Regions from separate parts of the Homo sapiens genome. Here region 1 is linked to region 2. Evidence: promoter capture Hi-C in 16 types of primary human blood cells and fetal thymus (Javierre and others, 2016). All regions are on one chromosome and are shown on one strand. The core of a region is centred on a gene start or on the middle of the fragment in contact, and the rest is flanking DNA. Distances in the headings are between cores, read along the strand shown.

What was found. Contacts are between HindIII fragments. The CHiCAGO score rates a contact against its expected background, and 5 or more counts as called.
Region 1: a fragment that was not itself captured here is called in contact with the fragment with the promoter of PIK3R4 in region 2 in 2 of 17 cell types (megakaryocytes and erythroblasts); the score reaches 8.0 in megakaryocytes.

What each region holds. Positions count from the first base shown.
Region 1 is chr3:130,869,014-130,872,093 of GRCh38, reverse strand. The region is part of intron 1 of LOC107986023 (a long non-coding RNA gene); the gene reads left to right. It also overlaps a transcript of ATP2C1 not described here. Among named protein-coding and RNA genes, the nearest start is that of ATP2C1, 24 kb to the left of the region's middle. RefSeq lists an enhancer at 2,410-3,080. The HindIII fragment of the contact is 1,864 bases long and covers 761-2,624 here.
Region 2 is chr3:130,745,119-130,748,124 of GRCh38, reverse strand. PIK3R4 (phosphoinositide-3-kinase regulatory subunit 4) reads left to right here and starts at 1,296. Exons shown (of 20, transcript NM_014602.3): 1 at 1,296-1,807; 2 at 2,861-3,006. The coding sequence starts at 2,907. RefSeq lists a silencer at 272-321 and an enhancer at 1,556-1,615. The HindIII fragment of the contact is 4,673 bases long and covers 1-2,394 here.

The DNA of each region.
Region 1 (3,080 bases), core at 443-2,942, 120 kb before region 2:
ATAAGAACATATTTTAGATTATATTCTTAGGGCCAAGACATTGCTTAAAGATTTTTTTTTTTTTTTTTTTTGAGACAGAGTTTCACTCCTGTTGCCCAGGCTGGAATGCAGTGGCATGATCTCCGCTCACTGCAACCTCTGCCTCCCAGGTTCAAGCAATTCTCCAGCCCCAGCCTCCAGAGTAACAGGGGTTATAGGCACGCGCCAGCACGCCTGGCTAATTTTTGTACTTTTTAATAGAGATGGGGTTTCACCACATTGGCCAGGCTGGTCTGGAACTCCTTACTTCAGCTGATCCGCCGGCCTCTGCCTCCCAAAGTTTGGGATTATAGGGGTGAGCCACCGCCCCTGGCCTAAAGATTTCTTACTAAGCATTAAGTAACACTAGGCATCAGCCAAGGTGAATGAAAATGGTCAATTAAGAACCTGTGAAACTCTAAGTCATCATTAGTATCCCTCTGGCTTTGACAATGACTTACCATCTTCTAAGCAGCATACATGCTATTCTTGAGTAGGTATGACAAGCCCTGTCAGCTTTGATTTTGGAAATATACATCATCAAATGATCTGCAACAGTGGTTCTGAAAGTGTGGTCCCTCCCACCTGGAATTTTTTTAGAAATGCAGACTCTTGGGCCCCACCTCAGTCCTACTGTATTAGAAACTCTGGAGGTGGGGCCCAGCATTCTGTTTTAATTAGTCCTTTAGGTGATTCCAATGCATGCTAAAGTTTCAGCACTGTTTACAAGAAGCATTAAGCTTTCATCTAAAAATATTTTGATCATGCCAATAGTACTCAATTCTAAGAGTGAATAAGAATGTACAGGGATAACTCAGAGATATTGTGAGCTTGGTTTGAGACCACCACAATAAAGCAAATATCACAATACAGAAAGTCACACAAATTTTTTGGTTTCCCAGTGCATACAAAATTTATGTTTACACTGTATTGTAGTCTATTAAGTATTCAATAGCAAGTCTAAAAAAATGTATATACCTTAGTTAAAAAATACTTTATTGCTAAAGAATGTTAATGATCATCTGAACCATCAATGAGTCATAATATTTTGGCTGGTAGGGGATCTCGCCTTGACGTTAATGGCTATTGACTGATCAGGGCGGTGGTTGCTGAAAGTTGAAGTGGCGGTGGCAATTTCCTAAAATAAAACAATAATAAAGTTTGGTGCATCAATTGACTCTTCCTTGCACAAATGATTTCTCTGTATTGTCTGATGCTGTTTAGTAGCATAGTAGAACCTCTTTCAAAATTGGAGTCAGTCCTCTCAAACCCTGCCACTGCTTTATCACCTCAGTTTATAAAATACTCTAAATCCTTTGTCATCATTTCAACAATGTTCACAGCATATCTACCCAGCAATAGGTTCTATCATAAGAAAACATTTTCTGTGTTTTCTTATGAGGAAGCAATTCCTCATCTGTTCAACGTTTATCATGAAATTGCAGCAATTCAGTAACATCTTCAGGATCCACTTCTAGTTATCTTGCCCTTTCTACCACATCTGTACTTACTTCCTCCACTGAAGTCTTGAATCCCTCAAAGTCATCCATGAGGGTTGGAATCAACTTCTTCTAAACTCCTGTTAATGTTGACACTTTGTCCTCCTTTCATGAATCACAAATGTTTTTAGTGACACCTAGAATGGTGAATCCTCTCTGGAAAGTTTTCAGTTTACTTTGCCCAGATCCATCAGAGGAATCACTATCTATGGTAGCTATAGCCTTATGAAATGTGTTTCTTAAATAATAAGACTTGAAAGTTAAAATTCTTCCTTGATCCATGGACTGCAGAACAGACAGCAGACATGAAAACATTATTCTCCTTTTACCTCATGTCAGAGCTCTTGGGTGACTAGCTGCACTGTGAAGAGCAGTAATATTTTGAAAGGAATCTATTTTTTTTTTTGAGGTCTCAACAGTGGGCTTAAAATATTCAGTAAGCCATGCTATAAATGGATCTGCTGTCCTACAGGCTCTGTTGTTCCATTGATAGAGCACAAGCAAAGTAGATTTAGCATCATTCTTTAGGGACCTAGAATTTTCAGAATGATAAATCATCATTGGCTTCAACTTAAAGTCAACAGCTGTACTGGTTCCAAACAAGAAAGTCAGCCTGTGGCTTTTTATCCACATTGAAAATCTATTATTTAGTATAGCCACCTTCATCAATGATCTTAGCTAGGTCTTCTGGATTACTTGCTGCCACTTCTCCATCACTCCTTGCTGCTTCACCTTGTACTTTTATGTTATGGAGATTGCTTCTTTCCTTAAACCTCAAGAACCAACCTCTGCTATATTCAAACTTTTCTTCTGCAGCTAACCCTCCTCTCTCAACCTTCACAGAATTCAAGAGAGTTAGAGACTTACTCTGAATTAGACTTTGGCCTAAAGGAATGGTATGCCTGGTTTGGTCTTGTATCCAGACCGCTCAAACTTCCTGCACATTAGCAAAAATACTGTTTAGCTTTCTTATCATTTGTGTGTTCACTGGAGTAGCACTTTTAATTTCCTTCAAGAATTTTCCTTTGTATTGACAACTTGGCTAACTGATGCATGAGGCCTAGCTTTCAGCCTACCTCAGCTTTCAACATGCTTCCTCATTAAGCTTAATCATTTCTTTTTTTTTTTTTTTTTTTTTTTTTTTTTTATTTTTTATTGATCATTCTTGGGTGTTTCTCGCAGAGGGGGATTTGGCAGGGTCATAGGACAATAGTGGAGGGAAGGTCAGCAGATAAACAAGTGAACAAAGGTCTCTGATTTTCCTAGGCAGAGGACCCTGCGGCCTTCCGCAGTGTTTGTGTCCCTGGGTACTTAAGATTAGGGAGTGGTGATGACTCTTAACGAGCATGCTGCCTTCAAGCATCTGTTTAACAAAGCACATCTTGCACCGCCCTTAATCCATTTAACCCTGAGTGGACACAGCACATGTTTCAGAGAGCACAGGGTTGGGGATAAGGTCACAGATCAACAGGATCCCAAGGCAGAAGAATTTTTCTTAGTACAGAACAAAATGAAAAGTCTCCCATGTCTACTTCTATCCATACAGACCCGGCAACCATGCGA
Region 2 (3,006 bases), core at 47-2,546:
GAGGCGGCGGATCACTTGAGGTCAGGAGATCCAGACCATCCTGGCCAACATGGTGAAACCCCATCTCTACAAACAATACAAAAACTAGCGGCCGGGCGCGGTGGCTCACGCCTGTAATCCCAGCACTTTGAGAGGCCGGGTGGATCACGAGGTCAGGAGATCGAGACCACGGCGAAACCCCGTCTCTACTAAAAAAAAAATACAAAAAATTAGCCCGGCGCGGTGGCGGGCGCCTATAGTCCTAGCTACTCGGGAGGCTGAGGCAGAAGAATGGCGTGAACCCGGGAGGCGGAGCTTGCAGTGAGCCGAGATCGCGCCACTGCACTCCAGCCTGGGCGACAAGAGCGAGACTCCGTCTCAAAAAAAAAAAAAACAAAAACCTAGCTGGGCGTGGTGGCACGTGCCTGTGGTCCCAGCTACTCTGGAGGCAGAGGCATGAGAATCGCTTGAACCCGGGAGGTGGAGTTTGCAGTAAGCCGAGATGGCACCACTGCATTCCAGCCTGGGTGACAGAGCCAGACTGTCTCCAAAAGAAAAAAAAAAAGGCCGGGCGCGGCGGCTCACGCCTGTAATCCCAACACTTTGGGAGGCTGAGGCAGGCGGATCACGAGGTCAGGAGATCGAGACCAACCTGGCTAACACGGTGAAACCCCGCCTCTACTAAAAATACAAAAAAATTAGCCGGGCGTGGTGGCGGGCGCCTGTAGTCTCAGCTACTCGGGAGGCTGAGGCAGGAGAATCGCTTGAACCCGGGAGGTGGAGGTTGCAGTAAGCCGAGATCGCTCCACTGCACTCCAGCCTGGGCGACAGAACGAGACTCAGCCTCAAAAAAAAAAAAAAAAAAAAAAAAAAAAAAAAAAAAAAAAAAAAAAATTAAAATCAGATTATAGGGATGATTGCACAACTCGATAGATGTATTAAAAACTACTGCTTTGTACATTTTAAGCAGGTGAACTTTATGGTATGTAAGTTATATCTCACCAGAACTCTAAAAATCCAGCTTGGGATATATTAGTTTTCCTAAATATTCTTGAGTTCTCTTAACTCTGTTCTGCTGTCCTGGGAGTGAAGGCGTGTCTGAGCAGATTCTAGGGGATGTCAGAAACCTCAGCGTTCGTGAATGAAAGGTAGAAGAGCAGGAAGGGGAATAGATCTTTGTCAGAGCATCATTTTCTCCCTGTAGACTCGCCCAAAGTAAGACCACGCCTTCCCTAGTTTCCTAGCAACCGGTTTCCTACCCTGGCAATTCCTCAAGGCTCACTCTTTTTCGTCACTTCCGCTCGGCGACAGGAAGTGAGGTCAGACCGGTTGCTTTCCCGGGAGTTCGGCGTTTGCTGGGGCTGCAGCAGCTGAAGTGTAGTGTTTTCTTGGGACTGGCGGTCTGCACTTCTCTCCCGGGTTCCATCTCCCCCCGCCCGGTGGTGAGGCCCTCGAGGAGGGCTCGGACGGGTGTAGCGATCCGCGCTAGAGGAAGACGAGGCCCGGGAACGCATGTCCCCCAGGGCAGGTTAGGGGGCTGGAGGGGTCAAATCCCGGGGTACTTGTGGAGACTCTTTAGCGTGGCTTCTTCTCTCTGCTGAGACCCCGAGAGCTTTCCCAGTTCTCCTCCCAGGACCACCGGGGTTCCTGAAGATCGGGACTTTTCTGCGCCCCTCCACCAACAGCCCATCTCCTGTCTATGAAGAAAGACCCTTCGTAGAAACAACTTCCCCGCTGCTGACGCGTTTTCCCGTCCCGTCCCCGAAGTAGTCTACTATGACCTCGTTGTGAGCCTCTGAACGATTTTGACACTTTCCCGAGGCCTAGGGTAAATGTTTATGTGTGCTCAAGGTCGTGTGTGTATATGTGTGGCATTTATTTCCTGCAAAACCTGAGTTAGCAGAACCCTGGGGTACGTTTAGCTAGTGTATACTTTGGTCTGCTTTTCTTTAACATCTGTGGCAAGGTTTCTTGTTGCAGACCAGCGAAGTTTGCACCTTCTTTTAGCTGGGTGAGAGGGCACACTGGAATTAGGCAGGAAGTGTCCAGGAGTTAACTGAATTTTTAGATCTTAGTTTGACCTTTTCAGTTTTCAGTTTTTCTTTTTTTTTTTTTATTTTTTGAGACGGACGGAGTCTCGCTCTGTCACCCAGGCTGGAGTGCGGTGGCGGGATCTCCACTCACTGCAACCTCTGCGTCCTGGGTTCAAGCAATTCTGCGTCAGCCTCACGAGTAGCTGGGATTACAGGCACCCACTACCACGCCCGGCTAATTTTTGTATTTTTAGTAGAGACGGGATTTTAACCATGTTGGCCAGCCCCGTCTTGAGCTCCTGACCTCGTGATCCTCCCGCCTCGGCCTCCCGAAGTGCTGGGATTACAGGCGTGAGCCACCGCGCCCGGCCAGTTTTAAGCTTTTAATGTGTCTCTTTCTTATTTCCAAGAAACTACAGATTCTTGGACAAGAACTATGTCATATGGTAACTTTGTAATTCTCATAGCCCCAAGCACAGCACGGAACACATAGTAAAGGCTCATTAATATTTTAAATTTAAATATGAGAAAATAACACAAACTAACATTTTTGGCTTAAAGTTGAAGAGGCCTATCTAAATATAGTTCAGCTCCTGGAAATGGCGATGCGCAATAGCAGGGTATTTTTAGGTAAAATAACAAGGTCTTCTTGGAGAAAATAACATGGTCTTTTTAGATAAATGTGTGTGAAATTTAGAGGCTGCCCCAGAAGGCTAGGTACAGTGCTGTTAGTGGAAGAGAAGTATGCTGCATCTGTCTTTTTGGAAGAGACCAAATAATGGAATAATGGTGTTTCACAGCTTCTTTGTTTCTTGTCTTTTTTCTTCATTTGTTTTTATTTTAAACAGGTATTATATCCTAACCTTACTAAAGACCACAGAGGTGCTTGCCATTATGGGAAATCAGCTTGCTGGCATTGCTCCCTCCCAGATCCTTTCTGTAGAGAGTTATTTTTCAGATATTCATGACTTTGAATATGATAAAAGCCTGGGGA